Regions from separate parts of the Homo sapiens genome. Here region 2 is linked to region 1. The links are contacts of gene promoters, found by promoter capture Hi-C in blood cells and fetal thymus (Javierre and others, 2016). All regions are on one chromosome and are shown on one strand. The core of a region is centred on a gene start or on the middle of the fragment in contact, and the rest is flanking DNA. Distances in the headings are between cores, read along the strand shown. Region 1 holds the start of TDRD6 (tudor domain containing 6). Region 2 has its middle 51 kb from the start of ENPP4.

The links. The method cuts DNA at HindIII sites, captures the fragments that hold promoters and counts their contacts. A CHiCAGO score of 5 or more calls a contact.
Region 2: a contact is called between a fragment that was not itself captured here and the fragment with the promoter of TDRD6 in region 1, in 1 of 17 cell types (M0 macrophages). The highest score is 5.4, in M0 macrophages.

What each region holds. Positions count from the first base shown.
Region 1 is chr6:46,685,523-46,690,047 of GRCh38, forward strand. It overlaps TDRD6 (tudor domain containing 6), which reads left to right and starts at 2,363. Exons shown (of 4, transcript NM_001010870.3): 1 at 2,363-4,525. The coding sequence starts at 2,607. TDRD6-AS1 (TDRD6 and SLC25A27 antisense RNA 1) reads right to left here and starts at 2,643. Exons shown (of 2, transcript NR_134643.1): 1 at 2,412-2,643. The HindIII fragment of the contact is 3,266 bases long and covers 1,503-4,525 here.
Region 2 is chr6:46,076,465-46,080,919 of GRCh38, forward strand. It overlaps a transcript of CLIC5 not described here. Among named protein-coding and RNA genes, the nearest start is that of ENPP4, 51 kb to the right of the region's middle. The HindIII fragment of the contact is 496 bases long and covers 2,862-3,357 here.

The sequences.
Region 1 (4,525 bases), core at 1,113-3,612:
CCCTGGCCTTAACCTTTCCCCCTTTATCCCTTACGTATTTGTATTAGGATAAGAATATCCTCTCTCCCAAACTTCACATACCGGGGCCTGTCAAGGGGTGGAAGGATAGGGGAGGGATAGCATTAGGAGAAATACCTAATGTAGATGATGGGTTGATGGGTGCAGCAAACCACCATGGCATGTGTATACCTATGTAACAAATCTGCACGTTCTGTACATAATGTCCCAGAACTTAAAGTACAATAATAATAAAAAAAAAATCCCCTCTCCCTTCTTTTCCGAAACCAAGGGCCTCTCAAGACTAATGGGAGGAAAGTTTATTTATTATAAAACTCAAGATATTTTGTTTAATATAGTATGGGAGATATATGAGGGGAGCTTAATCTTAACAGTGCAATGACCTGATTTTTAAAATTAACCCGAGTCCCTGTCCAACAGCAGAGCATGACAGAACAAACTAATGCTACCTGCTCCAGATACAGAAAAGGTAGGACATTGGAAAATCTGGGTGGATGGGGGTAAAGGATTCAGATCAGCCCATAACGGCCACGTGATATACCCTGACGTCCTAGGATTAAGGCCATGAGCCATGGAAGGAGGTTGGAGGACAAATGAAATACAGAAAGTCATAATATCTACAACCCTGTGGTCTACAAAGGAGTTTGGTTATACTACATGAACCTGAAATAGATGATGGATTAAAGTCTCCATTATTCCATGTAATGATAAAACAATTTCAAGTGATCATAAGACCATTTTATAATGAATTCCTTCTTTCCACTGTAAAGGCCATAGTGTTAGATTGCTTACTCTTGTTAAGATTTACTGGATGCTAACAGTCCAGCACTGGCTAGGCATCGAGAACATAAAAATAAATGAGAAGTGTTCCTGCTTTTAAGATGTTCCTACTGTGGCAAACAGAGAGCTACAAAATATAATAATATAGAAGTATGTAAAAAAAAAAAAAAAAAGGAATAACCAATTCTGCCAGGTTGAATAGTAGGGTCACGAGGAAACGACGTTTGAGCTAGGTCTTGCTAGATGTTTTTAAATAAAATGTTTTTCTTCCATAATGAATATGAAACAATTAGAAAAAAAATGGGAAAATTGAGTTTTCAAGGATGAGTTCTTCAGGAAAAGAAAAGCTTTGGCTTTTAGAGAAATTGGATTCATTCATTCATTCATTCATATTCATTTAGCAAATATTCATTGCCTTCACTCCAAGCTAGATTCCGAGAATCCAACAAACGGTACTTGCCAAAGGGAACCTGTCGGCTGGTGGGATGATAGAGATCAGACAGTTGCCACACAATGTGAAAAGTGCCGTGAAAAAGTAAGCATAGGGTGATGTGGAAGCACATGGTTGCCTCTAATCTGGACAGACTGAAGACACTGAGATTTACAGTTAGGCCAGGGTCATTTGAAGCACTGCCTTGTTGTATTTGTATGTAATGACATTTCGAAACGTGGAATGAAAGGAAAAGTACAGGCAGACTATAAGAAGCTTCCACGGATGTGTCTAACTTTGCAAATGAACAAAAATCTAATGTAGACATATCCTGGAAACTTCTAGTTTGCCTGCACTTTTCCATTCCAAATGGAGGTTTGGACATTTAACAGAGGCCTCAAAGGGTTATCCTGTTAAGATTTTAGTATATACAGCAGGGGCTTGAAGGAATGTTGATTCCATTCCTCTTGGCCTCCTTTTATGAATCCAGTTCTGTGCTAGCTCTGTGAGTAAATGAAAATGCCTTCAAAATTGGGATGCCAGAGTTAGACAGCAAAGGAGCAAAGGAACCCGTATCAGCTAAGTGTGGGAAGGGAAATATGTACCAGTTGCTATATACTTTCACACGTTATTTTAACCTCATAACAACTCTTATCAATTCAGATGATGGAACAGGGTTAAAGAATAGAGGCTGAGCACCTGGCTGTCCACGGACACACTGAGCCAGCAGGAGCACCCGTGCCCCGCAGCAGCACCCAGGGCCCTCCTAGAGTTCCGGCCTTAACGCCTAGGAACGTGCCATTGGCTCCTGCGTTTCTCGTTCCCGTCGGGAACGCCACTGGCTAGTACCTTGCCTGGCCCCCAGTGCTCAATCCCTGGTAGTTGGGAGGACGAAAAGGAAATCCCTCTCTGGTCGGTCCTCACCGCAGCCCTGTGTCAGGCCGTCACACGGCGGCCTCCAGAGTCGAAGGCGCTCTGAGGAGATGCAGGTTGTGTCCAAAACCTCCCACCTCGGGGTCTCCTGAACGTCCCAACAAGCTCCTTGGGCCCTTAGGCGTTAGGCCAACCCCAGGCCTCGGCTGGCCCCGCCCACTCTCCGCGGCCGGAAGTGGCGGCGCCGAGTGAGGTAAATGCGTGCCCGGAAGCGCGACCTCGGGCGGTTGGAGGGGCTACCGGGTCTTACCAGTCCGTGGCGGGAGTCCCGGAGGACCCTCGACGGGGGAGTTGCCGAGAAAAGGCCTCGCCGGCATTCTTCCCCTCCACTGGGTCCTTTGAACCTAGTTTGGCTGGGACTCGCCTTCAGGCGGCGCGGAGGATTTCGAGGCCCTGAGGCGCGGCCCTTAATTTCCGGAAGTGGGGGCCGCGCCGCGCCGTCAAGATGTGCTCGACGCCCGGAATGCCGGCGCCGGGGGCCTCGCTGGCCCTGCGGGTGTCCTTCGTGGACGTGCATCCCGATGTGATCCCGGTGCAGCTGTGGGGGCTGGTGGGCGAGCGGCGGGGCGAGTACCTGCGGCTGAGCCGGGAAATCCAGGAAGCGGCGGCCACGCGCGGCCAGTGGGCGCTGGGCAGCGCCTCGGCCTCGCCCGGCGAGCTGTGCCTGGTGCAGGTCGGGCTTTTGTGGCACCGCTGCCGCGTGGTCAGCCGGCAGGCACAGGAGAGCCGTGTCTTCCTGCTGGACGAGGGCCGCACCATCACGGCCGGAGCAGGCTCGCTGGCGCCTGGGCGCAGAGAGTTCTTCAATTTGCCCTCGGAAGTGCTGGGCTGCGTGCTAGCGGGCCTGGTGCCGGCAGGCTGCGGCGCGGGCTCAGGCGAGCCGCCGCAGCACTGGCCCGCCGACGCCGTGGACTTCCTTAGCAACCTTCAGGGCAAGGAGGTGCACGGGTGCGTCCTGGACGTGCTGCTGCTCCATCGCCTGGTCCTCCTGGAGGTGCCTGATGTGTTCCAACAGATGCGGGAGCTGGGCCTGGCTCGGCGGGTGCCCGACAGCCTCTTCCGTTCGCTGCTGGAGCGCTATCTCACAGCGGCCACTGCTAGCGTGGGCTCCGGGGTCCCGGTTCTCTCGCGAGTCCCGCTCAAGCAAAAGCAGCCTGGTCTGGATTACTTCTATCCCCAGCTGCAGCTGGGCGTGACGGAGGCCGTGGTCATAACCCAAGTGTGCCATCCCCACCGCATTCACTGCCAGCTCCGCAGCGTCTCGCAGGAGATCCACCGCCTCTCCGAGAGCATGGCCCAGGTATACCGGGGTTCCACGGGGACAGGGGATGAGAACTCTACCAGTGCCACCTGGGAGGAGAGGGAGGAGAGCCCAGATAAGCCGGGCTCTCCGTGTGCATCCTGTGGCCTGGATGGACATTGGTACAGAGCACTGTTGCTTGAGACTTTTCGGCCCCAGCGCTGTGCCCAGGTGCTTCATGTGGACTATGGAAGGAAGGAGTTAGTGAGTTGCAGCAGCCTTCGGTACTTGCTGCCTGAATATTTTCGAATGCCGGTGGTGACCTACCCTTGTGCTTTGTATGGACTCTGGGACGGTGGGAGAGGCTGGTCTCGGTCACAGGTCGGTGACCTGAAGACACTGATACTAGGCAAGGCAGTGAATGCAAAGATTGAATTTTATTGCTCCTTTGAGCATGTGTATTATGTCAGCCTGTATGGAGAAGATGGGATTAATCTGAACCGTGTGTTTGGAGTACAGTCGTGTTGCTTGGCTGACCGAGTCCTTCAGAGCCAGGCAACAGAGGAGGAGGAACCAGAAACATCTCAGTCTCAGTCTCCTGCTGAAGAAGTAGATGAAGAGATTTCACTCCCAGCCTTAAGATCTATCAGGTTAAAGATGAATGCCTTCTACGATGCGCAGGTAGAGTTTGTTAAAAATCCTTCTGAGTTTTGGATTAGGTTGAGGAAACACAATGTCACCTTCAGTAAGCTGATGAGGAGAATGTGTGGTTTCTATTCCTCTGCCAGTAAGCTGGATGGTGTAGTTTTGAAACCTGAACCTGATGACCTTTGCTGTGTCAAGTGGAAAGAAAATGGTTATTATAGGGCCATAGTCACCAAATTGGATGACAAGAGTGTGGATGTATTCTTAGTTGACCGAGGCAATTCGGAAAATGTGGACTGGTATGACGTAAGGATGCTGCTTCCTCAGTTTAGGCAGCTACCAATATTGGCTGTGAAGTGCACCCTGGCTGATATTTGGCCTTTGGGAAAAACTTGGAGCCAGGAGGCAGTTTCCTTTTTTAAAAAGACTGTGCTCCACAAAGAATTAGTCATCCATATTCTTGATAAACAGGATCATCA
Region 2 (4,455 bases), core at 1,860-4,359, 610 kb before region 1:
AGTCGGAAGAAGGCAATGGGATGATGGAAACAGGGCGAGAAGAGGTGATGTGATGTGGGCCATGCGCGAGGAATGAGATCTGCTTCTAGAAGATGGAAAAGAGAAAGAAACAAATTCTCCCCAGAGCCTCCAGAAGGAAAACAGCTCTGCTGACACCTTGAGTTTAGCCCCATAAGACTCATTTCAGACTTCTGACCCCCAGAACTGTAAGAGAATATTTGTATTCTTTTAATCCACTAAGTTTTAGGTAATTTGTTAGAGCAGAAATAAGAAATTAATACACCCATATCCTGTTTTATAGCATTTTCACCATTAGCCCTATTTTATATTTATTTGTTTATTTGTTTATCAGTTGTCTCTCCCACTACAATGCAAAGTGCCTGGGAGACATGGCTGGGCGCGGTGGCTCATGCCTGTAATCCCAGAACTTTGGGAGGCCGAGGTGGGTGGATCACTGAAGTCAAGAAATCGAGACCATCCTGAACAACATAGTGAAAACCCGTCTCTACTAAAAATACAAAAATTACCTGGGCATGGTGGCGCATGCCTGTAATCTAAGCTACTCGGGAGGCAGAGGTTGCAGTGAGCTGCCCTCCAGCCTGGGTGGCAGAGTGAAACTCCGTCCCAAAAAAAAAAAAGTGCATGGGAGACGAGACTTTTTTTTTCTTCATTGGTGTAAACCCAGCACCTGACATAAGATCTGTTGAATGAATAAATGAATGACATATGTTACTTAATTAAATAATTGGTCAACACTCTGAAATGATTAAGCCTCAATAAAATGTTGGTTAAACATATACTTACAAACCTGCATGACATTCTCACCAACATGTCTAGAACAGGTGAAAACATACACAAATGAATACAAGTATCAATGCAGCCCAGTGGTCCACACTAAAACAGCCCAGGAGAAGAACATCCAGAACTGAAAAGCCGTAAGCCCTACTAGGAAGACAGTGAGCCACAGAGCTCCCTCCAGTGTGGGGGACCAACATCCCTTCCACAGAGCAGGGAAGAGGAAAAGGCCTGAGAGGTCACACTCACACCCTACAGTTTCACTCAAGCAGAGAAGGCCCTGTTTTACTCGATTTTATATATTCTACTTCCATTCAACATTGGGTAAGGAACTTCAGTGAAGATAGGGCCGAGTGTGGAGCTAGGAAGCAGGGATTATAACTGCCGCTCTTTTTATTACTGAATATCCTTAAAAAGGAGTTTATGCATAGAAGCTGAGGTCAGTGGGACACTCTATGGCCTTTCAGTTCACACAATTATGCTAAAAAGAATGTAAACTTAAAGAGTTAAATCTAATATTTGCTTTAGGAAATTTTAAGTAATTTAGGAATTACATGTTATAGTCAATCAATTTTCCCTGTTGCTGGTACTGCCAGGAAGTACCAACACTTCTTTTTCCTACTACTTCTGTTTTTGCTCAATACCAGCCATAGGCTAATTTCTAGTGAGATAAACACTTAGCCAAATTTAGAAATAATGTCAGATGGGTCCATGATGATGATCATGGTGATGACCCACTTTGCCTGTCACAGGTTGCATGGATGCTTCTGCCATGAGAAAAAAAAAATACATCTAGTCCTCACTTTAAAAAAGTCTGTGGCCAGGAGCTGTGGCTCACGTCTGTAATCCCAGCACTCTGGGAGGTTGAGGCGGGTGGATCACTTGAGGTTAGGAGTTTGAGACCAGCCTGGCCAACATGGCAAAACCCCATCTCTACTAAAAATTCAAAAATTAGCCAGACCAGGTGGCACATGCCTGTAATCCCAGCTACTCGGGAGGCTGAAGCAGGAGAATCATTTGAATCTGGGAGGTGAAAGTTGCAGTGAGCTGAGATCATGCCATTGCACTCCAGCCTGGGTGACACAGTGAGACTCTGTCTCAAAAAAGAAAAAAAAAAAAGTTTGTTTGCACAGTGTGACAGTGATGATGTGGATATGGAGGTCAGAAAACTGCGTGAATGCACCTGTTCTAACATCACCTCCTCCGTGGAGCTGCTCCAAACTCAGTACACATCTCAGCACTCCTTCTCTGAACACCCACACACTCCACCCACTCCTCTGTTTCATCTCTTACTATATTGTATTAGAATACATTGAGTGCAAGTCTGTCTCTGTCACCATATTATTCATTACTTAAGAGCAAGGGCCTTGTCTTGCACAGCCCTTTCCCCCCAAATGCTCAGCAGAGTACAAGGCAATGTGTGTCTGGTATGTATGTGTGAACCAAGCACTATACTAGATTATTTTTAAAAGGACCTTGTAGTAGAATAAGTGATCCATGATTTACACACAAAACAATTAGAGAAAAGAACAAATTACAAGACAACAAAGGGCAAAATTAGTAAAGTGTGTTTCATCAGAAATGTTACTGGGAACTGGGGAAGAGAGAAATGAGTATGAACTATGGTTTCTGTAGGTTTATAATCATTTTTATTGGCAGGAAAGAGCAGCATTTACAAATATATTTATATAATAAATGTGAAAACATTTCTAAAAATCACATAAATATGAATATTGTGGGGGAGATGTTGGGGAAAAAGGGCCTGCCATCTTGATTAATAAAGATGATTTGTTTAGGTCTGAAACACTTTACATTTTGATAATATTTATAACCATAACTTTATTACTTTATCATCTAATACAAAGATCACCAAGGTTCTGTTTAGATATCGTAAGCATTAAACATTAACACTGGTAGTGTCTTACTACTACTGAAATCATTTGACTTCATCAAATTTTTAGTTATATTGGTGCCAAAGGGGCAAGCTAGTGACAGAGATAGCCTTTATTGACCACCTATCTGACAAATCTGTGACCTTAGAAGCACAAGAAGGTCTTTCTTTCACAAGCTTTGGTTTCACTTTTAAACATGTTGACAAAGGAAATTTAACCAGACAGAAAAATGTACTTAATGTCAGCCACAATGGCAAGGATTTGGGCAGCAGTTATGGCTCACTTATGTGAACCGTTTTGAAAAATACTTTGCCCATGGTATGTAAAAGTCAGTGATTAAATACGTGCTTTAAATGCACCTTCCAATTCCTCTAATTTTGTGAAGAGCTGAGTACACTCTAATGACTGATTTAGTCCCTCCGACTCCTGAATATGTATTGAGATCCAAGGACCATGGCATTATGAATCTTTCCCTGGTCATTCAGAGCAAAATAAAACACCAGCCATAATATCTGCATGAACAGGGTATGCCTGTCAGAGGCAGACCTTACCTTCACAAAGAGGTAAATCTCAGGGTTCATGTGAGCTCCCTCCTTTTCTTCCAAACCTTCAGCATCAGAATAGCAGGAATACTTGGTGGTAGAGAAGGCCTTACTGTGCTGAATGGTGAAGCTTGAAGGAGAAGGCAGATCTTCCTTCATCACACTCCCATTCTCCTGGAGTTCTGCTGCGCAGAGTTGCTGGTCCTGGGTTGATGAATATAACCCTTCCATTGAGATGCCCCTGTCCTCCTGGGGCTCACCTGGATGAGCCTCCTGGAGTTCAGAGTATATCTCATCAGGCAGGAGGTAGCCTCTGTCTTCTGACTGGACAGAGGCCAAGCTGGTCTCTTCACCCTTAATGGTATAGACTGACACAAAATCATACTCATGGGTATTCAGCTGAGTGGCATATAAATCATTTTCTGGCCTTAAGTACTCATGGACATCATCATAATGGGGACTTTCATTTTCTTCTGGCTGGTCTGGAACCTCATACGTCCTCTCATTTTGGATTGTGTCATAGATGGTGCTGTAGTCTTCGTCATTCATGCTTATTGATCCGAGAGATCTGTTTACAGGGAGACCTGAGTAGATCTGAAATGAATGAAGGGACAGAGGATGCTGCACCACCTTGCAGAGGAATCAACGAGCTCTTAAAAGGCAGCAACTAGCAACTGCTATCAATGACAGGTCTCTAACAATTATTTACTGGAGAGTTTTATAAGCAAACCACAAGTCCATTGGACAGAAGATAAAGCTTACACACTCAGTTAACTCCTTCACTCCTAAAGATATTTTTATTAGACCCTGGGGATTTCCTCATTGGCAGTAACTCCAAGATTCTTTGGGTAAGCCAGAGATTGAATTGAATTATCTTCCTGGTATACACTGAAATTTTGAATATGTAGCCATTTTTCATCAATAGAGCTCCCTCCTCCAACTGCCTCCAAATGTTGACAACATTCAAGAACCCCTGCAATTCAGTGGAGAGCTACAATTCTTCACAATGGCCTCTCATCTATTTACTGCTGAATTTATCACATAGAACAATTATTTGCCTATTGATACCCTGTGATAAATGAATTACATGCCCTGGTTAGGTAATGAATTCCATTTACATTTCTTATCTGGAAACACCACTAGGTGATTAAACAGCAGAAGGAAAAGAAGATAAATGCTCTGGCCTATAGACACATCAGTATAGACCACCCAAATTAGGGACTCAA